Regions from separate parts of the Homo sapiens genome. Here regions 1, 2, 3, 4, 6 and 7 are each linked to region 5. The links are contacts of gene promoters, found by promoter capture Hi-C in blood cells and fetal thymus (Javierre and others, 2016). All regions are on one chromosome and are shown on one strand. The core of a region is centred on a gene start or on the middle of the fragment in contact, and the rest is flanking DNA. Distances in the headings are between cores, read along the strand shown.

The links. Contacts are between HindIII fragments. The CHiCAGO score rates a contact against its expected background, and 5 or more counts as called.
Region 1: a fragment that was not itself captured here is called in contact with the fragment with the promoter of ZNF622 in region 5 in 2 of 17 cell types (M0 macrophages and megakaryocytes); the score reaches 6.8 in M0 macrophages.
Region 2: a contact is called between a fragment that was not itself captured here and the fragment with the promoter of ZNF622 in region 5, in 1 of 17 cell types (total B cells). The highest score is 6.0, in total B cells.
Region 3: a contact is called between a fragment that was not itself captured here and the fragment with the promoter of ZNF622 in region 5, in 1 of 17 cell types (total B cells). The highest score is 7.6, in total B cells.
Region 4: a contact is called between a fragment that was not itself captured here and the fragment with the promoter of ZNF622 in region 5, in 2 of 17 cell types (M2 macrophages and M0 macrophages). The highest score is 7.0, in M2 macrophages.
Region 6: a contact is called between a fragment that was not itself captured here and the fragment with the promoter of ZNF622 in region 5, in 2 of 17 cell types (naive B cells and total B cells). The highest score is 5.3, in naive B cells.
Region 7: a fragment that was not itself captured here is called in contact with the fragment with the promoter of ZNF622 in region 5 in 2 of 17 cell types (megakaryocytes and M0 macrophages); the score reaches 9.4 in megakaryocytes.

What each region holds. Positions count from the first base shown.
Region 1 is chr5:17,166,825-17,170,395 of GRCh38, reverse strand. All of the region lies in intron 1 of BASP1-AS1 (BASP1 antisense RNA 1), which reads left to right. The region is part of intron 2 of LOC105374664 (a long non-coding RNA gene); the gene reads right to left. Among named protein-coding and RNA genes, the nearest start is that of MIR10522, 13 kb to the right of the region's middle. The HindIII fragment of the contact is 1,542 bases long and covers 790-2,331 here.
Region 2 is chr5:17,316,032-17,319,434 of GRCh38, reverse strand. No RefSeq gene overlaps it. Among named protein-coding and RNA genes, the nearest start is that of LINC02111, 70 kb to the left of the region's middle. The HindIII fragment of the contact is 5,802 bases long and covers 1-3,403 here.
Region 3 is chr5:17,220,247-17,223,530 of GRCh38, reverse strand. The region is part of intron 1 of BASP1 (brain abundant membrane attached signal protein 1); the gene reads right to left. Among named protein-coding and RNA genes, the nearest start is that of BASP1, 4.3 kb to the right of the region's middle. The HindIII fragment of the contact is 2,320 bases long and covers 665-2,984 here.
Region 4 is chr5:17,102,999-17,106,325 of GRCh38, reverse strand. LOC124900947 (a long non-coding RNA gene) reads left to right here. Exons shown (of 2, transcript XR_007058707.1): 2 at 1-298. Among named protein-coding and RNA genes, the nearest start is that of MIR10522, 51 kb to the left of the region's middle. The HindIII fragment of the contact is 2,036 bases long and covers 695-2,730 here.
Region 5 is chr5:16,463,729-16,467,118 of GRCh38, reverse strand. It overlaps ZNF622 (zinc finger protein 622), which reads left to right and starts at 1,319. Exons shown (of 6, transcript NM_033414.3): 1 at 1,319-2,078; 2 at 3,377-3,390. The coding sequence starts at 1,454. RefSeq lists a silencer at 1-134 and an enhancer at 1,942-2,011. The HindIII fragment of the contact is 4,211 bases long and covers 1-3,390 here.
Region 6 is chr5:17,273,472-17,277,081 of GRCh38, reverse strand. BASP1 (brain abundant membrane attached signal protein 1) reads right to left here. Exons shown (of 2, transcript NM_006317.5): 2 at 248-1,874. The coding sequence starts at 1,865. The coding sequence ends at 1,182. Among named protein-coding and RNA genes, the nearest start is that of BASP1, 58 kb to the right of the region's middle. RefSeq lists an enhancer at 948-1,448. The HindIII fragment of the contact is 6,227 bases long and covers 1-3,610 here.
Region 7 is chr5:17,186,443-17,190,128 of GRCh38, reverse strand. The region is part of intron 1 of BASP1-AS1 (BASP1 antisense RNA 1); the gene reads left to right. Among named protein-coding and RNA genes, the nearest start is that of BASP1-AS1, 29 kb to the left of the region's middle. The HindIII fragment of the contact is 3,942 bases long and covers 1-3,686 here.

The DNA of each region.
Region 1 (3,571 bases), core at 311-2,810, 700 kb before region 5:
GAAACAAGTGGATATCTTTGTGGTTGCTGCCACGGGATTTAAGAGTCCTTTTTTTTTTTTTGATACGGAGTCTTGCTCTGTCACCCAAGCTGGAGTGCAGTGGTGTGATCTCAGCTCTCTGCAACCCCCACCTCCTGGGTTCAAGCGATTCTCCTGCCTCAGCCTCCTGAGTAGCTGGGATTACAGGCATTCACCACCATGCCCAGCTAATTTCTGTATTTTCAGTAGAGACGGGGTTTCACTATGTTGGCCAGGATGGTCTTGATCTCCTGACCTTAAGAGATCCTCCTGCCTCGGCCTCCCAAAGGGCTGAGATTACAGGCGTGAGCCACCACGCCCAGCCTAAGAGTCCATTTGAAGCATTTTTATTCTAAGAAAATTTATTTCCATATGTAGTTGGGATGAAAAGTCTATGAAATCCATTCAAAACAAAGGTGCTTTCAACTATACTGTTTGAAGTTACAGTTTTGTTTCTTCCCTTATCCTGTGCTATCTTAAGCCATATGTTGTTGTAAATTAACAGGAAAGAGGGCATTTAAAACAAATGGTTTATGTGAATAGCATTAATCCCGTCAAGACTAGTTTGTGACAAGGGCTAAAGATTGCACTCTTGCCTTTTAAGCTCAACCAAGTTAAACATCTGAACTATTTCTGCTGTCTTGTAAATATTAAGATGTAACACGTTTCTGATGTTTGTTGACATTTGTTGTACTTTTGATGAACAATTAGCCTGCAAGAATATTAACAGGAAATTCCATTCATGAGATAAGCAGCTGTTTGTGCAAAGCTTCAGCCAGATCATGGGACCAAAAATCTTCTTTATGCAACTACTGTTTGTTGAATAGTCAGCATTCCTTGCATGTTCAAAAGGAAATGCTTTGGAAATAACTTTTATGGCTAATTTTGACTTTTATATTTTCGTAAGGAGAAAATAACTTTCATGGTTAATGTTGACTCTTATACTTGCAGGTAGTAAAATAATGTCCTTTATCACCATGTAAATTTCAAACAGTAGTCATTGACAAATCCCTAGTAATTTCCAAATTGTAATGCAGAATCCTAAGGCTGGTGTTAAGATCCCTGAGTCCACGTCATATCATAATGCATGATTATTTTATTGAAATAAAAACCTACAATTATATGAAACACTCTCTCTCTCTCTTTTTTTTTTTTAGACAGAGTCTTGCTCTGTCACCCAGGCTGGAGTACAGTGGCACAAACATGGTTCACTGCAGCCTCAACTTCCCAGGCTCAAGTGACCCTTCTGCCTCAGCTTCCAGTAGCTGGGACCATAGACACGCACCACCACACTCAGCTAATTTTTAAAATTTTTTCTATGGACAGGGTCTTGCCATGTTGCCCAGGCTGGTCTTGAACTCCTGGGCTCAAGCAATCCTGCCTCTTTGGCCTCCCAAAGTGCTGGGATTACAGGCGTGAGCCACAGAGTCTAGCCAAGAACGCTCTCTAATTCAAAAATGTTTCTTAGGCCAGGTGCAGGCTCACACCTATAATCCCAGCACTTTGGGACCGAGGTGGGTGGATCACCTGAGGTCAGGAGTTTGAGAGCAGCCTGGCCAACATGGGGAAACTCCATCTCTACTAAAAATATAAAAATTAGCCAGGCATGGTGGCACATGCCTATAGTCCCAGCTACTCAGGAGGCTGAGGCAGGAGAATCGCTTGACCCCGGGAGGTGGAAATTGCAGTGAGCTGTGAGCTGAGATTGCGCCACTGCACTACAGCCTGGGCGACAGATCAAGACCCTATCTCAGGAAAAAAAAAAAAAAGTTTATCTTCCATATTTTGAGCTGTTAAAACATTTCATGTAATATTCACATAGCAACATGTATTTAGTATCCACTAAATTACTGGAGATACAACTCCAAAGGCATTTGGAGAGAGGAAGAAGACTGACAAATAACTAGGTAGATAATTTTGCCATCACAGAAATGATGGCAGGTCTCTAGAAGCACTAAGGAGACAAAATTGTTTTTCATGGCGGGGTGTCTTATCAAAGATTCACTCAAAATTCATCAATCATCAGTCACCAAATCCTGTAGAATTTACCTCCTAAATACCATCCCCTCTGCCTCTTCCTCTTTATCTCACTGTCCCGACTGCCCCCTCTCCTCTCACTTGCAAAAACCTATCTGCTTCTATCTAGCCTGCCTGCTTCTCATCTCTCTGATACACCATTAAAGCCCAAACTTTCTGGGTCATGTGGCCCTATCAGTAAAAGATTTCTGACCAGGCATCCCCAGTATGACACTTATTTATCAACTCTACACGTGAACTGCTTGCTCTCAGTCATGTGTAAGTATCAGTAAAGCTTAGTGTCTTCTTTATTTTTTTTCAGATTAAAGAATACATCTGTATCCAATTTTCTTGCATACTTTTAGGGGTACAGGCCTCCCCTGTAACATGAGAGACCACTGCTCAAAAAGGCTACAAGAGAAAAGTTTCTGAAATGATATCAACTCATAATTAAGACTCTATAGTCTTTCACTTTGACTTTAAAATAAGCTCAAGGCCCTTCTGGGTTTCCTTTTTTGCCCATGATAGCCTCAGACCTGGCTATAGAGCTAAACAGGGGAATGCTCAGATGAACAGATGCACCTCTCCATCCTCACCCCTCATCCTTTTTCATGCATATCCAGGCCTTTGCTGGAGTCCAGCTGACCTCTCAGCAGGGAAGGAGTTAAGATAGAACAGGCACTGACCACTAACAGCAGTTCTTGACTGCCCTGTGCCAAGTGGTTTTCCAGTTGAGAGCACCCCTGAGGTTTAATTGGCCAAAGTCTGAACTACAATTTTTCAGAAGGATTAAGAAATGTCCCTTTTAAAGCCCATTTCCAGGAGTGTGAGGTGATTATATGACAGATAGGAAACGAGCCTAGGCATCTTTTACCTGCTCCAACTGGCTAGAATAATCTAGCATAAATCCAAAAGGTAATTCCAATATGCATCCCATCACCTAAACTATTCCACATCATTTACATGAAATCATGTAAATCATGACATCATGGTTTCTCCCCAGTTCATAAATCAGCTCTGCCTTCTATAGTCAGTCAAGTTCCCCATGAATGCTACCACCACCAACCCTGCTTTCCACGTAGCAAACCTGACATTTAAACTGAATTTCTCCCTCTCCTTCATGCTCACATCTATTTACCAACACCTCCCCAACCCCGCCTCGGAGAAGTCTTTGAAATCCATCTTTCCTCCTCTGACACTCATTAGTCTAGGCCTTCAGCATGTCTTGCTTGAGGAATTACAATCATCTCCTACTTTGTCCACCAACCTCCAGGTTCTCTGTTTTAGCTCAGTTGCCTAATTATCTTCTTAAACAAAAGTTTAGCTGATATCCATATGCCTCTCTTAGTAAAAACATTTGAGCACACACCTCTAAAATGGGATTATTTAAAAATTATAAACATGCATTACTTTGCTAATATATTTTGCATATTGTAAAATTATATATATATACAAATATAAATTTAAAAGTGTGGCATGGGCCAGGCGTGGTGGCTCACGCCTGTAATCCCAGCACTTTGGGAGGTCGAGGTGGGCA
Region 2 (3,403 bases), core at 50-2,549, 850 kb before region 5:
CACTCTGGGGGAAGTGTACTTGGAAATCTGTCTTCATTTTCCATTTTCTTACCTGAATACATAAAAACCCTGAGGTTTGGATAGTATTAGTAAACCAAACTGAGAAAACAAACATAAAAAAGGATACTATTTTCTGGCCGGGCACAGTGACTCATGCCTGTAGTCCCAGCACTTTGGGAGGCCAAGGTTGGCAGATCACTTGAGGTCAGGAGTTCATGACCAGCCTGGCCAACATGGTGAAACCCCATCTCTACTAAATTAGCCCAGCATGGTGGTGCATGCCTGTAATCCCAGCTACTCGGGAGGCTGAGGCACAAGAATTGCTTGAACCCAGGAGGCAGAGGCTGCAGGGAGCTGAGATCACTGCACGACATTCCAGCCTGGACAACACAGTGAGACTTTGTCCCCCCCGCCACCCTGCCCCCCAGAAAAGAAGTCTAATATTTTCTGTATTACCTGGTAATAAAATTCAACAATTTAAGATAAAATTATCTATCTGCTTTACTCTTCTACTTTCTAATACCAACGAATTTTCAGGTTGGTTCATGGTTATGGTCACTCAGTCAAATGAAAGTCCTTGCCTTCCTTCATCTCAGTAATCATCGTTGCCAGACATTTAGCTTCCCATTGAATCTGTTATAAAGATCACAACACAAAAGTCACCTTCATCTTTCACTTCCCTTATGGAACCCCCCTTTTTGTGGGTCTAAAAAAAGACATCCTTCTGCTCTGAAGATCAAGAGCAGAAACCATTCTTCTTTTTTTTTTTTTTTTTTTTGAGACGGAGTCTCGCTCTGTCGCCCAGGCTGGAGTGCAGTGGCGCGATCTCGGTTCACTGCAAGCTCCGCCTCCCGGGTTCACACCATTCTCCTGCCTCAGCCTCCGGAGTAGCTGGGACTACAGGCGCCCACCACCACGCCCGACTAACTTTTTATATTTTTAGTAGAGACGGGGTTTCATGATTTAGCCAGGATGGTCTCGACCTCCTGACCTTGTGATCCGCCCGCCTCGGCCTCCCAAAGTGCTGGGATTACAGGCATGAGCCACCGCACCCAGCCTTCTTCTGGTTCTTAATTAGGGCACTATTCAGTCTCCCTAGTTTGGATGGATGGAATGGGATGGATGAAGAGAGAGAGAGATATATCAGATGGACAAGGGATGGATGGACGGATGGATACATTGATGGGTGGATAAAGCAAAAGTAAGAAAATGTTAAGAATCTGTTAAATCTAGTCGGGTGCATATACAGGTATTCATTGGACTATTCTTTCAACGTTCTGTATCTTTAAATTTTTTCATTAAAAACTTGCAAGAATAAAAGGTCATTGGTATAAACACAACAAAGGCCTTTTTCACAGTATTGCCATCTTTTCTCCTCCCAAACTACTCACGCCTTCCCATCATCTCTTCACCTGACACTGCCTTCTTCTTCTCGTCCCAGGCAACAAGGAAGTAAAACAGTTTCCTGCCTCTCACTGTGCACATTCAGAAAGTTGCTCTCTGTAGAGAGAAAATTTTGTCTAAAACAAAATTTTTACTAATAATCAACCGTGATTTTTGTTGAACTGTAGACCTCCACTTGTATTTGTTGCCATTTGAAATTTCCATAGTGCTGTTTCTTCTACACCCTTTATTGCTGAATCCGGAACTCAAGCCAGTCCTTCCCTCCTTATAAGACACACGTTCGTGCACACACACAAACACACACATTCAGTTCCCCCTCCTCCACCCCCACTCGGCTACACTGAGTCAAAGCCCAGCTGGCCCTATTAGAACGGAAAAGGAAAGCAATGAAACAGACCACACAAATATTCTAAGACTGGCTCCTTGGAAGGAAATTGAGAATTCATTGACATCTCCCCAGGGAAAAATAAGTGAAATTGTGTCATTGTCAGACACTCACATAACTAAATTAATGTGAAATTAAAATCAAAATGAAATATTCCTCTTCATGTTAAAAGTAGTTCACTTAAGTAGTCCATGTACAATTGGCCGCTCCTGCAGCACATTATTAAGTGATTTAAAAGATTAATTTTAACACAGATCACAGTTTCAGTGGTGGTTATGCTAGCATTAAGCAAATAAGCATACTGTCCCAGAAAGAAGCTGATGGTTGCAGGGCAGAAGCATCTTGTCTTGCCACAGGCAGTACAATTGCGTTCATACTTCTTGCTTCAGTTTGCAGTGTGTGTATGAGCCTTTAATTCATGAAACATTAGGAGAGGATCTTTTTCAGGAAGTGAGAACCCGAAGTTGACAGACACATAACCTCATCTAGAATGACAACTAACGAGTTCCTAAACCACAAATATTCATTTCAACAATTTGCAATAATCTACCGTGTGCATGCCAAAGCATTCTAGACAGAACAAACAGTAACAGGCCGGCCTTTGCCCCACAGCATGTTCCTCTAAAAACAGATCCATAATCAAATGCTAAGAAAATACATGCCCTCAACCCTGAAGCAAAAATGTGAATGCAAGCTACACGGGGTAATGTTCCCTCTGGACAGACACCAGTAAATCCAGTTTGCATATGAAAATCGAGGCTTCTTTGCTTCCCTGCACACGATGCTAAAGTGAAGGTCAACAATCTCTTTGACCCTGAGTTCCAAGAAGATGGGAGACTATCAGTGACAACGAATGACACAGACTGAGTCCTGGCCTCAGATGGGAATGAGTGTGGGGGGGTGGGCATGGAGACAGAGGAGGAGGATGAAGGAACAAAGGATTTCAAGCGGGGTCAGCAAACTCTTTCTGTAAAGGGGCAGATAATAAGTATTTTAGGCCTTTGGGCCATATGGTCTCTGTTGCAATGACCCCAGTTTGCTGTTGTAGTGCAAAGCTATAAGTGAATAGGTGGAACTATGTTCCAATCAAACTGTATTTATGGACAAACACTAAAACTTAAATTTTATATAATTTTCATCTCTCATGAAATACTATTCCCCCTTTTTTAACGTTTAAAAATATAAAAATCATTTCTTGCTCACCAGCTGTACCATATCAGTCAAGAAGCTGACTTTGCCCATAAGCCGTAGATTGCAGACCCCTGATTTAGAGCATTGATTCTCAGACTTGAGCATGCATCAGTCATGTACATTGATGAGAGCAAACACAAATCCTTGGGCTCTGCCCCAGCGTTCCTGATCCCACAGGTCTGGGATGAGCCTAACCATATGCATTTCTTACAAGTTCCCAGGTGATACTCATGCTACCAAGAACACAAATGGAGAACTATGGTTTAGAGACAAAGTAACAAGACGGAGAAGGGAGGAAAGAAGTGCCCATGGCCAGGCGTGGTGACTCATGCCTGTAATTTCAGCACTTTGGGAGGCCAAGGTGGGTGGATCGCTTGAGGCCAGGAGTTCAAGACGAGCCTGGCCAACATGGTGAAATGCCGG
Region 3 (3,284 bases), core at 575-3,074, 760 kb before region 5:
GAGGAGTTTTCTAAACCGCAGACTTCTATATTCTACCTACTGAGCAAGGCACCACCATTGGCCTGTCTTGCAATAATGGTCTCTTTGAAACAAACATATGAGTAGCTATAGATGAAGGATGCAGTAAAGAAAACTGATATTCACACTCCTTTAAAAAGATGCACTGAATATAAGGAGGCATTGTCCTAAGTGCATGACAATTTTGTTTAATACTTACAGTAACCATGTATCACAATTCCCATTTTCTAAATAAAATTGAGGCACAGAGAAGGTAAGCAATTTACCAAAGATCATACAACCAGTAAATGGCTGAGAGAAGATTCGAACCTGGTGCTGTGGCTCCAAAGTCCATCCCCACCATGCCTAACCCTCCAAATCATGCTTTCTAAATATTATACTCCCTACACAATGTACAAATTGCTGAAATATCTACTTCAAACAGAAGTTCAAAACACAAACCAATGAAGTCCAGTCCTGCCTCCTTCAAAACGAACCAAAAAAAAAAAGAGTTTATAAAATGCTTAAGTGATAAGGGGAAAATATTGTGTAAATGCTTTGCTTTCTCCACTGCACACCATTTTCCTATATTATCCTGAAGTGTTTCCTTATGCCCTGGGCCCCTGTGGTGCTTGCAGATGGTTTCTATTTCTAAATCTCTAAAGCTTTCAGGAATGTATTCCTAGACTTCCAAGCCTGCTCAATCACCACCTCTCAGCACTGACGGCCTTGTTGAGTCAAAAAATCTCAGCTTTCCCTATTTTTGTTCAAAAATGTACTGAGTATGGAAAGTCTGTAAAACATTAAGAAATAATTTTTTATGTTATTTAAATCCTTAGGGTGCAGAAGAAAAACACACTATTTCATTCTCTCTGCCTCCCATTTCATCCCATTTCTGACTTCTAGAGGGAAAAGGAGAATGCTGTTTTAATCACACTGCTTCCTTCTTAGGCTTGTGGCTCCTCAAAATTACAATTGAACTATATTCTGGTGAGAAATGGACTCTGTATGGTTGATTTTTACTCTTGAGAGCATTTACCAGACATCTGTTCTCATGTGACACTTACCTAGACGTCTGCCTCAAAGGCTGTGGCTGGAAAGGCGTTTCACAAAAGCCTTCCTTTGGCAGGCTGGGCACTGCTGTGGTTTCAAGACTACCCTTGTATTTTCTCAAGAGAACTTAAATGCCACTTCTTAAGTTACATAAGTATAAGTATAAGCAGACCTGGGGAATTCAAGGAAGGTGGCCATCTTGATATCATGAAATCCACTTTCAGGCTAATTCCCATATAATACAGAATTTCAAATATCTACAAACACAAGGACAGAAAATAGGAACCATGATATTTGGTCCCCTTTAGGATTGAGACATCCTACTTCTAACTTAATACTCCTGGGGTCCCCCGGGCTTCATTAATCAAGCTGGAACAAAAATACAGCTGAATATACTGAAATTAGTTAGTGATGTCAATTACACTGAAAGTGTTGATTGACACTTTCAGTTGTTGAAAACACTTTCAGTGTAATTGATATCACTAATTGAGACTGAGAGGTTGAGGAGCCCTTCAGAGCCAGCCATTCCACACTTAAGTCATTTTTAGATATCATATGTAGTTCTTATTACAACCCCAAAATAGGAATTATTAGATTCTTCAAATCCAGTCTTTATACGATTTCCTGAGAAACCACTCCAAAAACATTACCCCAAAACACATAAAGAGTACTTTATCTTTCAAAATATTCTATTTGCAACCTCACAGTTCCTTCCTAATAGTTGTCCACTATAATTAAGCCAAAGAAAAAAGCTCATGTTCACTGGCTTATCTAATGTCTTAAGAGATACAATAAATTTAAAGGATTAGATATAATTAGAGAAAATTTGATATAACAATAAAGATTCCATGCCCATTTTCAGAGAATATTCAAGTTGTCTATATATCTACTCAGTGTTTTTCCCCAGCAGTTACCTGGTTTCCAGGGTACCAGCTAAGACCATCATTAAGAAGAGAAAGAAGATGTGAAATAAGTAGGTACAAACTACATTAAGATAAAGGTCTGGACAAATCAACGCATTTCTTTCAACAGAATCAGATACCAAGGGCAATTGCTTCTGACAAATAATAGTTCACAGGTCTTCTTTGGATATTTAAAAAAAAAAAAAAAAAAAACATTTACAAGAGATCACAAAAATAAGACAGAACAATTTTATAAATCTTTTATTTAGTAGGCATTGTTTATTCCAGCTTGTAAAGTTCAGTAGTGCTTGATGTAAGTTTTTAAGCCTGTGGATGAACGTCTTAGCTTAATGCTCCAGGTACACTGGGATAAATGGGAAGTGAGCTTATTAATAGACTTGCTAGGCTTTCCCTTTCAAACACATATTTAGAAAGACAGAAATTGATTATGTTCCAAAGACCAGTATCAAAGCACTATAAAATAATATTCTATACCAACCAGTTTGATTTCAAGTTATTCATAAGATTTTAGAGTGTGTATAAACAAGTATGTGTATGTGTACATGTGTATATACATGACACCTTGTTTTTAAAAATGGGTGTGGATTTTGCAATTTTTACAAAACTACCGTAAATAACACAGACATCCATTTTAGAGTGATCAAATCTCCTCCAAATGAAAGTTTCTCTCTGATGTCATACTCCGCTTGACCATGAAATGAAAATGGCTTCAAACTGTTCTTAATTGTGAAATTAAAAAATAAAGAGACAGAACGCATCACCTCTTGCACCATAAGATCCAGGAGGATTATGGATCCTAGTAAATCCAGGATTATGAAGAGGCCTCCAAGGATAGACAGCCTAAATGTTTAGGGCTCTCCCATTGGACCTTTAAACTAGGGTGATGTGGGGAGATAAGGTTCTCTTCTACACGTCACAATGGCAGACTGAGTACCAGTTAAAGAACAGAAATGCCACTGTCATTGTTGGTGCTTTTTATCAAAAGGCTCAATTTCTCTATCTGCTAAAGCTTGGCAAAAAGCTAGCTGGCTAAAAGAATAAGCGAACTGATAGAAATATTTTAATTCTGTAATAATTTTTAAAAATCGATTTAAATATTATCTCACTCAAAAACCTAAGATTTACTGAATTGGGGACATGCTGGTATATATTTGCTATTGAATTTGTTCTATATTCCAACATACCCCTCGCCAAAAACACAACCTAAAGGAAAAGAAAAAAGAAAGAACGTAGCTCTCTAAATCATAATAACCTACTCAATACTAAGGAGTACAGAGGGTACAATCCATGCCACCTAGAAGACAGCTAGAC
Region 4 (3,327 bases), core at 463-2,962, 640 kb before region 5:
GGCAGCAGTCTCAGGGCCTCCATCCATCCAGCCCTCATTGGCTCCCACCCACATTGTGCCAAGCAGAGTATCCACAGGATATGGAGTCATCTTCCGTGGTCCCAGCTGGATTTGATTGCGCTGTGATGACTTGGCTGTTGCAGAGGCTAGATTGAAAGCATGTCTCAACTTCACCTCTTGAATGCAATGCTGTTTATATTTGCCTAATATTTTTCTCCCCCTTGGGTTATTTGAAGATCATGCCAAACTTTTGTTTCTTTTAACTGGATAGAGTATTCTATAAAGATATTTTAAAGCAGTTATTCTCATCGACATTTTGCAAATCTGGAAGAGAGTTTTTATAGCTATACAGCCGTTCTCTCACCATGGCCTGGCTCCACATACAGCAAAGTGATCCTTCTAACCCAGATCACGCCCCCACTGTACTCCAAACCACTCACTGCCTTCATCTTAGGATGGAAAATAACATCCTCAGATGGTTTACAAGGACTCTGCAATGTCCCCTTGCTCCCATGTCATCTTCCTCCACTCTCCCCCTGCCTTTCTTGCTAGCCCTTGAATAGCCCCAAATATGTTCCTGCCTTGAGGCCTTTGCACTTGCTGTTCCCTCTGCCTGGAATGCTCTTTGCCCTACATATCTGCACAGCTCACTTCCTTCTGTTGTCATTTCAAATGTCACCTTCTCAGGCAAGCTTCTCCTGTCATCCTACCACCTTACATTATATTTTTGTTTATTGATTTATTAGATGGCTCCTGCATTACAATGTAAAGTAGGTAACACGATGGCCTTGGCTGGCAGGGCTCACGCCTGTAATCCCAGCACTTTAGGAAGAAGAGGTGGGCAGATCACCTGAGGTCAGGAGTTCAATACCAGCCTGGCTAACATGGTGAAATCCCGTCTCTACTAAAGATACAAAAATTAGCCAGGGGTTCTGAGGGGGCACCTGTAATCCCAACTACTCGGGAGGCTGAGGCACGAGAATTGCTTGAACCCGGGAAGCAGAGGTTGCAGTGAGATGAAATCGCACCACTGCACTCTAGCCTGGGCGACAGAGCAAGACTCTGTCTCAAAAAAAAAAAAAAAAAATGTCCTTGGCTTTATTCACCACTGAATCACCAGCACCTAGAGCCCTGAAGACACGGGTCTCAATACATATTTATTGAATGTGAAAGGACTGACCTCCAAGAGATTCAACAGCAAGCAGGTCTCTCATTCTGACTGAAGATTTACTCATCCAATTCATTCATTGCTAATGTCTTCTTTATCAGTCTAGTTATCATTTTTTTTAAGCGAAAGCAAGTTTATTAAGAAAATGAAGGAATAAAAGAATGGCTACTCCACAGGCAGAACAGGCAGTCTAGTTATCATTCTTAACTTTCTTGTATACTTAAAAATTTCCTTCTGTGCTTCCCACACATGACTCCAGATTTCTTTCCTCACCAATATTCTGGGATACTTTATATCACCTTCTACTCCCTGACCCATTTTTACAATCGTCTGCAGAACACTACTTAACAAATTGTACAAAGACATCTAGCCTTACAAATGCCTCTATAGATCAAAATGTTTTCCAGGGCCGGGATTAAGAAAAAAAATGTGGGCTGGACGCAATGGCTCACGCCTGTAATCCCAACATTTTGGGAGGCCGAGGCAGGTGGATCACCTGAGGCCAGGAGATCGAGACCATCCTGGCTAACACGGTGAAACCCCGTTCTACTAAAAATACAAAAAATTACCTGGGCGTGGTGGCACGCGCCTGTAGTCCCAGCTACTCAGGAGGCTGAGGCAAGAGAAACGCTTGAACCTGGGAGGTGGAGGTTTCAGCAAGCTGAGATCACGCCACTGCACTCCAGCCTGGGAAACAGAGCAAAACTTAGGAAAAAAAAAAAAGAGGCGAGGGGGAAAGAAGGAAGGAAGGAAGGAGAAAGAAAGAGAGAAAGAAAATGCTTTTGGTTGGGCATGCAGTGACTTGCACCTGTAATTCCAACACTTTGGGAGGGAGGGGTGGGAGGATCACTTGAAGTCAGCAGTTCAAGACCAGCCTGGGAAACAGAGAGCTCCTGTCTCTACAAAAAATTAACAAAATTAGCTGGGCATGGTGACACGCACCTGTGGTCTTAGCTACTCGAGAGGCTGAGGTGGGAGAATCACTTGAGCCAGAGAGGTCAAGGTGGCAGTGAGCCAAGATCAGCCATTGCATTCCAGCCTGGGTGACAGAGCAAGACCCTAAAAAAAAAAAAAAAAAAGAAGAAGAAGAAGAAAAGAAAAAGAAAAAAAAATGCTCCTTAGCAGCACACAACCTCACCTCATAAGGTTTCAGATCACTTCTCCCACCCACACCCCCACCGCCCCCCGCAAAGTGCCCCCACTGTAACAACAGATATATGATTTTGCACTTTCCGTCATCTTGACCCACATAGGTAGCAACCCTTCTTTGGATTCTGCTGCAGCATTGTGGTGGTCCCCTGAAACTAAGGGGTAAAACGTGCTTCCAGCAAGATGCATGATCTCTACACAAACCAACAAATCCTGCTGCTAAAAAGCCAAGAGGTTGGATGTCTGTATCGAGTTGTGGCTTGCTTTTCTGTTCTTTCTTAAAAGTATTGACAAAGCAGAAGGTCAGTGCTATTATGGAATTTACATTTCTATGAGAAAGATAAGGAGGAAGCAGGATGAAAATGCTGACAGGGTTCCATTGTAAAAGGGAAGAACGCTGAGAAAGAGAAGCTTGCCCTGAGACCATTTTCAAATAATAATAATAAACTCATCAGCAAGAAGGATAACAAAGAGAACAAAGAAATCTGGAAGAAATGAAAATAATGGAATTCACTTTGATTTTATGGCTTTAATGCATAATAAACATGCTAGAAAATATCAAGTCTAACCCACACTGGTCCTTGGCTCCCTGTTTCTTCCACTCTTCTTTTCTTTTTTTTTTTTTTAAACAGAGTTTTGCTCTTGTTGCCCAGGCTGGAGTACAATGGAGTGATCTCAGCTCACTGAAACCTCTGCCTCCGGGGTTCAAGCAATTCTCCTGCCTCAGGCTCCGGAGTAGCTGGGATTACAGGTGTGTGCCACCACACCCAGCTAATTTTGTATTTTTAGTAGAGACAGGGTTTCTCCATGTTGGTCAGGCTGGTCTCAAACTCCTGACCTCAGGTGATCCACCCGCCTCGGCCTCCAAAGTGCTGGGATTACAGGCATGCACCACCGCCCCCAGCTCTTCCACTCTTTTCTATTGGCAAGACTGTCTTACTCTTCTGGAATTGTCCCCACTCTAGAAAAGAGATAAAAAAGGAGAAAGAGGCCGGGTGCGGTGGCTCACA
Region 5 (3,390 bases), core at 70-2,569:
AAGGTTTTTTAAAGCGCCATCTTCTTTTGGTTTTCTCTTGGCAGCCTGGATTCTGAGCATGCAACATTCGACTCTAACAAGGCTGACTCTGGTTCAACCAGGCTGTGTGGATGAAATCTACGACCTCCCCAAGCATTTGAAGTTCATGTTTTCTTTTTCTTTTGAGATGGAATCTTGCTCTGTTGCCCAGGCTGGAGTGCAGTGGCGCGATCTCGGCTCACCACAACCTCCGCCTCCCGGGTTCAAGCGATTCTCCTGCCTCAACCTCCCAAGTAGCTGGGATTACAGGTCTGCGCCACTGCGCCGGGACTAATTTTTGTATTTTTTAGCAGAGACTGGGTTTCGCCATGTTGGCCAGGCTGGTCTTGAACCCCTGACCTCAGATGATCCGCCCGCCTCGGCCTCGCAAAGTGCTGGGATTACGGGCGTGAGCCACCGCGCCTGGCCTGAAGTTCTTTTCTACAGAACTTTGCTGTCCTATATACATGAGGGTACACAGCCAACTGGGCACCTGGCACGGGTCTAGTCCAAATTGAGATGGGCTGTTAACTCTAAAACACACACTGGATTTCCAAGACTTAGAACCAACGACAGAGCGTAAAAGATCTAATTAATTCTTTTAGACTGATTACATGCTGAAATGACAGGATGGGCTAAATTAAACACATTAAAAGCAGTTTCACCGATTTCTCTTTACTCTTTAAAAATGTGGCTGCTATTAGAATTACCTACGTGGCTTGGACTGTGTGTCTACAGGGAGCTCCTCTCGCGCACTCTGTGCACTCAAATTCCGCCGGTGTCCTCCGCCGGAAGGGCCGCCTCAGAAAGGCCGAGCCCCCGGCCTGGCTTCTCCGGTTTCCCGGGAAAGCGTTGCAACCACGGGCGAGGGCTCCGAGGTCGGCCCCGAGGGGTAAGGGCAGCCCTTGCCTTCGCGACATCCATTCACCCGGCTCCGCAGGTGCAGCGCGCGGTCCTCAGAGAAACCCCGACCCTCGCGTCGCTGACCCGACCATTCATTAATCGGGGGCTTCCCAGGGCCCAGGAGCAGCCTCGGGCGCCCCACTCCCCCATTCTCGCGTAGCCGTCCCCTTGACCGCGTCACACCGAGCGGCACAACCACCAGGGAAGGTAACTGGGAGGGCGCGACCTCCCTCAATCAACAGCCACCTCGGGCTGACTGAGCGGACCCAGGTCCCTTTCAGCCACAGCGTTCCCTCGGCTTCCTGGGCCTCACGGCGGCGGAGGCGTGGCCACAGCCTGAGAGGCGGGTTTCCTGTCCAGTTGTGAATAACTTCCGACGTGTGCCGGAAGTTTCCTCAGTGACAATCAGGAAGTCGGCGTGTCGAGTGGCTCTTCCTGGCTGCTGAGGCGGGTTAAGGTCTGAGGGTCTTGTGGGGCCACGGCGCTGATCACCAGGTGTTTGGCTTGGTCGGTTCTTATTTCTCGCCTGGCAATGGCGACGTACACCTGCATAACTTGCCGGGTGGCGTTCCGCGACGCGGACATGCAGCGGGCCCACTATAAGACGGACTGGCACCGCTACAACCTGCGGCGGAAGGTGGCCAGCATGGCCCCAGTGACCGCCGAGGGCTTCCAGGAGCGAGTGCGGGCGCAGCGGGCCGTCGCGGAGGAGGAGAGCAAGGGCTCGGCCACCTACTGCACCGTTTGCAGTAAGAAGTTTGCCTCTTTCAACGCCTACGAGAACCACCTCAAGTCCCGGCGTCACGTTGAGCTGGAGAAGAAGGCCGTGCAGGCAGTGAATCGGAAAGTGGAGATGATGAATGAAAAGAACTTGGAGAAAGGACTGGGCGTGGACAGTGTGGACAAGGATGCCATGAACGCGGCCATCCAGCAGGCCATCAAGGCCCAGCCGTCCATGTCTCCCAAGAAGGCGCCCCCAGCGCCTGCAAAGGAGGCCAGGAATGTCGTGGCCGTGGGTACTGGTGGCCGTGGGACCCACGACCGAGACCCGAGTGAGAAACCACCCCGGCTCCAGTGGTTTGAACAGCAGGCGAAGAAGTTGGCAAAGCAGCAGGAGGAGGACAGCGAGGAGGAGGAAGAGGACCTGGATGGAGACGGTGATGGCCCTGTCTGGGCGGGGAGGGTAAAGAGGAACTTGGCCCACCCTTAAGTTTCCAGATTTATACTCGAGATGGGTGTGTGTGTGTGTTTGAGAGCTTTTAAGTAAAAATGATGAGGGAAGGTGGTTTAGACGCTTTCTGAAGTGCCTTATCTGGCCAGCAGGTTTGGCTGTTTAGTTCACTCAATTCATTCTCCAAGGCCTAAAACCTTGTCTGGAAAAAGAAGTGCTTAATGCATATTTGGAGAATGAATTGATGCCTTCTGTGTTTTGGATGAAGAGGCTTTTAACATATGCACAGGAGGACATGCTATCGTCATACCAGCTGCCGTGTAATTTGCGATTCTAGTGGGTTTCCAGTTATGATGGTTTTGCACTTAATTTAGTTGAGTAAAACAGAATGAGGGGATCAAAACCAACTCAGCCAGAAATTTGGAGCTGGAGCCAGCACCCTCACCTCTTTGCCTTTATGAGCTATTTATTCCTTACTTCCCTCATCCCACATCCTATTAACAGTGCTGGTGTAGGTGTTCATGTCTTAGTCTGTCCACTCTGCTATAAGGAAGTACTAGAGACTGGGTGATTTATGAACAACATAAATGTATTTTCCCATAGTTCTGGAAATTGGGAAGTCCAAAATCAAGGTGCTGGCAGAGTCAGTGTCTGGTGAGGGCCTGTTCTATAGATGAAGTTTTCTCATGGTGTCATCATGTGGTGGAAGAAGCAGAAGGCAAAAAAGGGGCTAGCCAGTTCCCTCGCACTAATCCATTTATTCAGGATTAGTGCTTGCCTAACCTAATCACCCACTAAAGGCCCCACCTCTTAATGCCATTTCATTGATGATTAAGTTTCAACATTTGAATTTTGGGAGGGAAACATGCATTCAAACCATAGCCGTTCATAGAGCACCCTACCAGCACATACACACACCCCATAGTACTTTTGTGAAATAGTAGATAGAGGCATTGTTTTAGAAGTTTATAAAAATATCCAGGCAGGTAGGAGACTTCCTAACTATATTTTCAGCACTGGGCTAGGTGCTGTAAGGCATAGGAAAGAAACAAAGAAAAGATTCCTGTTTCCTGGAAAAGAAAGACTAAGGAGTTTCATGGCCATTCAGATGAGTCTGTGGTAAACAAATAGCTAAAATTGAGATCTTGAAAGAGGAGTTGTCCTTGGGAGTTGGGGTGTGGCTGTTTCTCCAAATATAGGACTGTATCACCTCGTGAATTTTTGTGATATCTTTGCTTGCTACTACTTTTCTTAAACTTTATATTTCAAAATTCTGGCTTGCAGATTGGGAAGATATT
Region 6 (3,610 bases), core at 570-3,069, 810 kb before region 5:
AGGTGGGGTCTCACTATCTTACTCAGGCTGGTCCTCAACTCTTGGGCTCAAGCCATCCACCTGCCTCGGCCTCCAAAAGTGCTGGGATTACAGGCGTGATCCACCGTCCCTGGTCTATTTTTTTACTTCTATCCAAATATATTCAGAAAAATGGCCAATACAGTGCTCTGTTCTCTGATAAAGTAGTTATTGAAGGGGACTAGAAAAGTAAAACAAACAGAACAAAAAACCCAATAGTCTTTATTACTTCTTTTTAATTGTTTAACTTTATTACTGTTGCACCATTTATACAATTACATATAATTTCAATGCATCCATTGTACATTTTTTTGTTTTTTTTTTGTTTTTTTTTTCCATTTTCCAATGAGTGGTGTGTTGGTGTCTGTGACACAGAATGGAAGAGAAACTGGAACTGCAATGAACGCAGACTTTTTTTTTTTTTTTTTTTCATTTCCACTGACCAATAAACAGAACTACAGGTGCACCCAACCACGGACATGCATTAACTCGTCATGAGAAATCTAGGTAGGCTAAGTAGGATGAGAGAATGTTTGTCACTCCCAAAAATATCTGGAGAGGAAGAATGGAGGATTGGCATTGAGATCCATGTGGACAAGCTAAGTGGGCTCTGTCTGAAAGCTGGCATTCATCCACAACATTAAAAAAATATCAAAATAAGAAAGGCTGTAAATTAAAAAGAAAACACAGAAAATACTGCTCTCATAAAGATCTGATTGCCTTGGCACAGGCCCTGTGGGCAGAATCAAACGCATCACTCCCAACTCCCATTGCAGAAGAAAAGCTATTCAACTCTCAGCGGTGGAGGAGTGCATGTGGCGGCAGTTTCAGGTACAAACGATGTACTGCACTTTCAGACGCGGATCTTGGAAATCCAGGACTTCTTGGTAAAGTTGACTGAAGGTATATTAGATATTTCCCCACAAAAATACTATTTGGATTCTCCCACCCCCTCCCTCCCTTGATGGGACAACATCCTGTATTTTTCCTTGGGCAATACATATCATTACTTCCAATTTGAAACAAGTTAGTATAGGAGAGAGAGAGAGGAGAGATAGGAGAGGAGAGAGAGAGAGGAGATAGAGAGAGAGATAGAGAGAGAGAGAGAGAGAGAGAGAGGAGATTGTTTTAAGTGGTATTGTTTTTCCTATAGGCTGTCCTTGTCACTCTTTCACGGTTACGGTTTGGTCGGAATTAGCTGCCGGGGCCTCCACCGGCTTGGGCTCTTCTGCAGAGGCTGCGGGGCCCTGGGCCTTGGGTGTGGAACTAGGCGCTTCCGTGGCTGCGGGGGTCTCCTTGGAAGAGGGGGCAGCCTCCGAGCTGCCGGGTTTTGAGTCTGAAGCTGGGGCCCCGTCACTTTTGGTCTCCTGGGCGGCAGGAGCTGCGGGCGCCTCAGTCTTTTTGGGTTCCCCTTCCTCCTTGCTGGGCTCCTCCCCGGCGGCAGGGGCCGCGCTCTCGGCCGGGGCCGCGGCGGCCTCAGCAGCTTTGGGGGCCTCGCCGCCCGCAGCGGGGCCGGGGGCCGCCTGCTCCTGCTCGGGCGCCTTCGGGGGCTCAGCCTTGGCCTCTGCCGCGCCCTCCGTCTTCTCGGGCTCCGCCTTCGGGGCCTCCTCCTTGGCAGCCGCCGCGTCCTTCTCGCCCTCCTTCTCCTCGGCCTTGCCCTCGGCGTCCTGGTCGGGCTTCTCCTTGCCCTCCTTGGCCTCGGCGGGCTCTGCGGCCGCCTGGGGCTCACTCTCCTTCGGGGTCCCCTCCTCTTCCGTCGCCGCGCCCTCGGCCTTCTTGTCTTTCTCCTTGGCTTTCTCGTCGTTCACATTGTAGCCCTTCTTCTTCTTGCTGAGCTTGCCTCCCATCTTGGAGTTCTGGAAGCAAACACAAAACAAAACAAAACGGCGGTTACTAGGCAAGTGTGGGGACCACAAAAAGCTGCATTTTGCAAAGCAAGGGGTTCTGGGCCTGCTGCACTGCACACCCCAAAGGGGTGGCATGGTAAACTATAGTTAGGCACAGTTAAATTCAATTTATTCATGTATTTATTTTTGAGACAGGGTCTCGCTATGTTACCCAGGCTGGAATGCCGTGGTGAGATCTCTTCTCACTGCAGCCTCCACCTCCTGGGCTCAGGGGATCCTCCCGCCTCAGCCTCCCACACAGCTGGGCCCACAGGTGTACCCACCACGCCCAAGTAATCAGTTAAATTATTATATTACACTGTTATTACACAATTAAAAGTTAAAAATTTTAAAAAGAATCAAAAACATTAAGGAGCTCAATTAAGTGAGTTCTGCAATAATTTTAAATGAGTTTTTAAAACAATGTGTCACGAAAAGAAATTAAGGAGCTCAGTTGTGGAGCTTCTAATCATAGCCAGTTGAGGGAATAATAAGCTGAGATCAAAGAATCAGTGATTAGAGGCAAAGTTTGTCAACCCTGGAGAGGAGGAGCGCTATCTGTTTTTCATCTGCAATCCCATGTCTGATGCAAACACCAAGCGTGGAACAGGCATGTGCAGCATGGCAGGGGCAGCCATCTTAGACCCAGGTTAGAGCTAGAGAAAGGCGTTGCAATTTTAAAATGCTTTCTGGAGAAACTGCACAGCTGTAATAAAGCACAAATCACAGATTTCTAGAAAATAATCTCAAACTACAAACTCTCTCTGCTACATATGTGTGTGTGTTATATCAGCAAACACATCTTCAAACACGTAAGGTAAACAGGATTCAGTCTATCTTCTTACCAAGCAGGGGCAGTTATGAAAAAGCCAGTGTCTCTTGCTGGCTGTGTCTGACATAAATTCATTTCAAGGTATTTTCAGCTTAAAAAAAGTAGTTCTATAGTAACATAAAATTGTTGTTCATTATCAATTTCCTGGTTAGAATTCAAACTATACATGCACGTTCAATGGTCATTAACAACTGTCTTAAGGCTGCCGCTTTCATTCTGGCACAAGAAACTCCATTTGTATTTGAATCTTGAAATTCTCTCCTCTGAAAACCAAGCATTAAACCAGATAAATAATAAATTATAAATTTATAAATAATAAATTTCATCCAGAACCATGGCCAGAGCTAAACAGACTCTTGGTGCATTTTTTTTCCTTCAAGTCCATTTTTCTGTCACCACACATCAGTGAAAATCCACTGAAATGTTGCTTTTGCAAAGAAAATGGTTGCTTTTCCTGGATGAAGCGTGGCAGAAATCACATTATACTATCCTCGTTAGTCCCATAAATGAGAAAAGCCCAGGAGAGAGCATCAGCCTTGCCCTGGACCCCAAGGGAGGTTAGAAAGAGCAGGGGGGAACCACCTGGTTTTGCCCAGGTCAGGTCCACTGGCAGAACTGTACACACTCCTTTGCCAGCTTTGCAAATATATACATCCCTTATTTAGAAAAGAAGGATTTGCTGTTTATTACTTCCTTGGAATCAAGATTCATGACAGTGAAATAACCTATATTTATCTTATTAAAAGTCGAGTTTTTGGTGGAAGAAAATGAATTCTTCAGTCAAAATTTTTCTCACCATTCTATATGCTAATTTCTAATCTGGAATGACTTCAGTAGTTGGGGGAAGAGAAAAGCAATAAACTGAAATTTGACT
Region 7 (3,686 bases), core at 626-3,125, 720 kb before region 5:
CAGGTCAAGTGGATGCTCTCCTTGTGACTGTAGCAGATGGAGGAGGAAAGGTAAAGGTGAATGCAAGAGGCTAGAAACATACATTGTGATCCCTTTTTTAAAGCCTTTGATTTTTTAAGATTAAACTAACCCATTTTTTTAAGTATATGATTTGTTCATTAAACTACAAATACATGTCTTGGATTGCAAGCTGAAGAGCAACTGAGAGCTAGGAGAGGCATGATAAGACCCAGGAAAGAAACTACAGCAAGGCGCCCTCATGTCGCTTAGAATACAATGCAGGTCCCTGTAGCTCCTGCTCCCTGAGCCTCCTGGCACGCCTGTTAAACAACCACTGCCTTATTCACGCAGAGAACTTGCCATGCTGGGGTCGCCCAGGGAAAGTGAAGTTTTGGTCAGTGTTTTGGGTTGAATTGTATGTCTTCTCCGAAAAAATATGTTGAAGTCCTAACCCCTCTTTACATGCCAATGTGACATTATTGGAAGGAGGGTCTTTGCAGTTGTCCTCAAGTTAAACTTCGGCCACTAGGTGGCGCTCATCCAATGTGACTGCTGTCTTTATAAGGAGAGGAGATTTGAACACTGAGATGCAGAGACAGAACGCGGTGGGACGACAGAGGGAGAGAGGGGGGTGATGCGTCCACTAGCCAAGGAACACCAAGGACTGTTAGCAGCTGGGAGAGATGGAAGGAGCTCCGGAAGAAACCAGGCCTGCCCACACCTTGATTTCAGACTCCTGTTCTCCAGAATTGGAGAAAATAGATCTCTTGTTTTAGGTCACCCAGTTTGTAGTCCTTCATTATGGCAGCCCTAGGAAACTCATGACCAAATCTGGAAAAAGTAGGCCGGGCACGGAGGTTCACGCCTGTAATCCCAGCACTTTGGAAGGCCAAGGTGGGTGGATCACCTGAGGTCAGGAGTTCGAGACCAGCCTGGGCAACATGGCAAAACCCCGTCTCTACTAAAAATACAGAAATTAGCTGGGTGTGGTGGCGGGCGCCTGTAATCCCAGCTACTCAGAGCCTGAGACAGGAGAATCACTTGAACCCAGGAGACGGAGGTGGCAGTGAGCCAAGATCGTGCCACTGCACTCCAGCCTGCACAACAGAGCAAAACTCCATCTCAAAAAAAAAAAAAAAATGGAAAAAGTAGAATGGAATTCTGGGAATGATAATCAAGAGAGGTTCAACTGCTGAAGCACGAAGTTTTAAGGCTTTTTTTTTCTGTGTCTTCTCCTTTTCTTCCCTATTTTCCGGTCTACTCAACCCCGATATTCCAATTTCTCAATATGAAATATTATTTTTAGTTATCTTTAAACGCACAGCTGTTGGTGATTTCTGGAGACATGCCCATTTTTTCCAGTCCATTTTGTAGATCTCCTCAAATACCTAAAAACTTCACAGTCCAGTTGGCATTTTTAAAGCACTTTGCTCCTTTGAGTTGCTCAAATTATTTGACATAAATGTTCCCTTATTCATGTCAGTTTAAAGGAAAAGATAAGTACAGATCTTATTTTAAACCTCAGGAAATATACAGCAAAGTTAAGCATCTTATAGTAAATCACGTTGCCTTTCAGCGAGTGAGCAGAGCCTGGTGGACGGACTCCCAACTGCCTGTATAGTCTTTTTAAAGTATTATACAATTATATTTTATTCTTTATTACCCACCTACAAGACAAGAATGAATAAATCCTCCAAAATGGTGGTCACTCAAGAGTTGCCTTTTGGGGACCTTTCTCTTTTTTTTGATAGAAATGCCTCTGATATTTTGAGAATTCATAAAATCTCAAACAAAATGGAGCGAGTACCTTGTCATGTTCTAATTCTCCAGTAACCACAAGAATCTTCCTTCCTCTCCATTCCATTCTGAGAAAGAGCCACTTCACCTCTCAGAATGATGGGAAAGATAAGGCACAAGCCAAGCCAAATCTTCTCCCCCAAATTCCCTGGCTCTACACGTCCCTGGGACAGGAAGGTCTCAGCTCGCTGACTTGGGCATCCTCTGTGTGCCACAGGTGGGGGATCACCATAGAGAGCCCTCGGTCGGACTCCCTCTGCCCCTGGCATTCTGCCTCCCAAAGTTAAGTGTCATCTTAAAGATGGAGCCACACCAGGGAAAATTCCCTTATCCTTGCTGTGTTTCAGCAGAAGTGAAACAGACTGGAATTTCCAAAGCTACTAAAGAAAGGAGAAAGGGAAATCAAAGAACATCAAGAAAATTTAACAAGCCTAAAACTCAGAAGCACAGAAACATGGCTGAGCGTGTCCACCGCTCACAGGCCCTGTGCCACCCCTCCTCCAAGCTCACGGGCTTGGTTCACATGATCAAGACCACCCTGTGGCTTCCTTGCTTCCCAGCTACAGAGTCATGGCCACTGAAAAGTGCCACCTCACCTCCCTGCCAAGTCTGTGTCCTAGACAACTAACTCCCTGGATCAGGGGCATTACTGAACTAAGACCAAATCTCCAGATGAGAGAGAGATTATCAGATTCTTCACATGCGATCCAGCTTGTGGGAATGCGGGTGGGGTATAGGAAGTGGTTCAGCCCCATATGGATCCTTATAATGGAAGAATTATGAAAAATATAACCACAGAATAAACATGACAGTCACACAAGATGAGTCAGGTACACACCACAAACTGTGTAGGTCTCAGTGAAAGTAGACTATCTGGCTGAGGTTGGAGGGTCCTAGGCTAGTGCTACGGGGAGACAAGGACATGGTAGACAGGAAGGAGGTGACCCAGGCAGGGAGAAGGAGCAGATAGATTAGGAGGTTGTTGCCAGAAAGTGGGGCAGGCCTGTGGTAGAAATGCATGCCCCAGAGTTAAGGAAGCTGGGAACTGTCAGGAGCAGGTTGTGTGGTGCCAAAGAACACTGACATTTTTCAAATGGTGGGGGATTTGAAAAGGCAAGTGAGCAGCCCAAATGTGATCATAGTTAACGTCGACTGAGTTACACCAGAAATGTGCTAGACACTTCATATGGATCTTCTCATGTAATCCTCACAACAACCCCATGCTATAGAAGTACTGCCGTCCACATTTTATAGAAGAGTTAACAAGCCTTCAAAAAAGTAACTTGACCAAAGTCTCACAGACTAGTGAGTACAAAACCGAAATTAGAACCCACATCATTGGATATTGAAGCCGGAGCACTTAACGCTATATATGCGCACACACACGAGCACACGTGCACGCACACGTGCACACACACACATACACACACACACATCTTAAATATCAAGGACTCTACAGAGCAGGGGTATTTTCCAAAAGGAGGAAGAGTCATAGATTGCAAGTGATCATGGAGTATTGGCGTAAATGGGTCCCCAACCCAGTAGATGAAATGTGAAAAGGGGGAAGCCGGGATACTCTGGAGAGAGCAGAACTTCAGCTAGGGTGCGCATTCTCTGAGACTGAGGACACAGAAGGAAGTATCCACTGAAGAACAGGAATCCCAGACAGCCCAATGGAAAGGGTTGCCATGAGAGTAAAAGAGGAGTCAGGAGTCCATGGGAAAGCCCCACAGAGCAGCAGGGAGCAAGGGCATGCAAAGGAGACAGATTACCAGCCTGGCCAGAGCTTGGGTGATCCTTGGAGATGACAGGATGGTAGGGCAGATGGGACAGACTCCAGGGGGCCGCAAGTGTGCTGCTGTTTCCCCGTCCTCTGAGCTGCCAGGGCC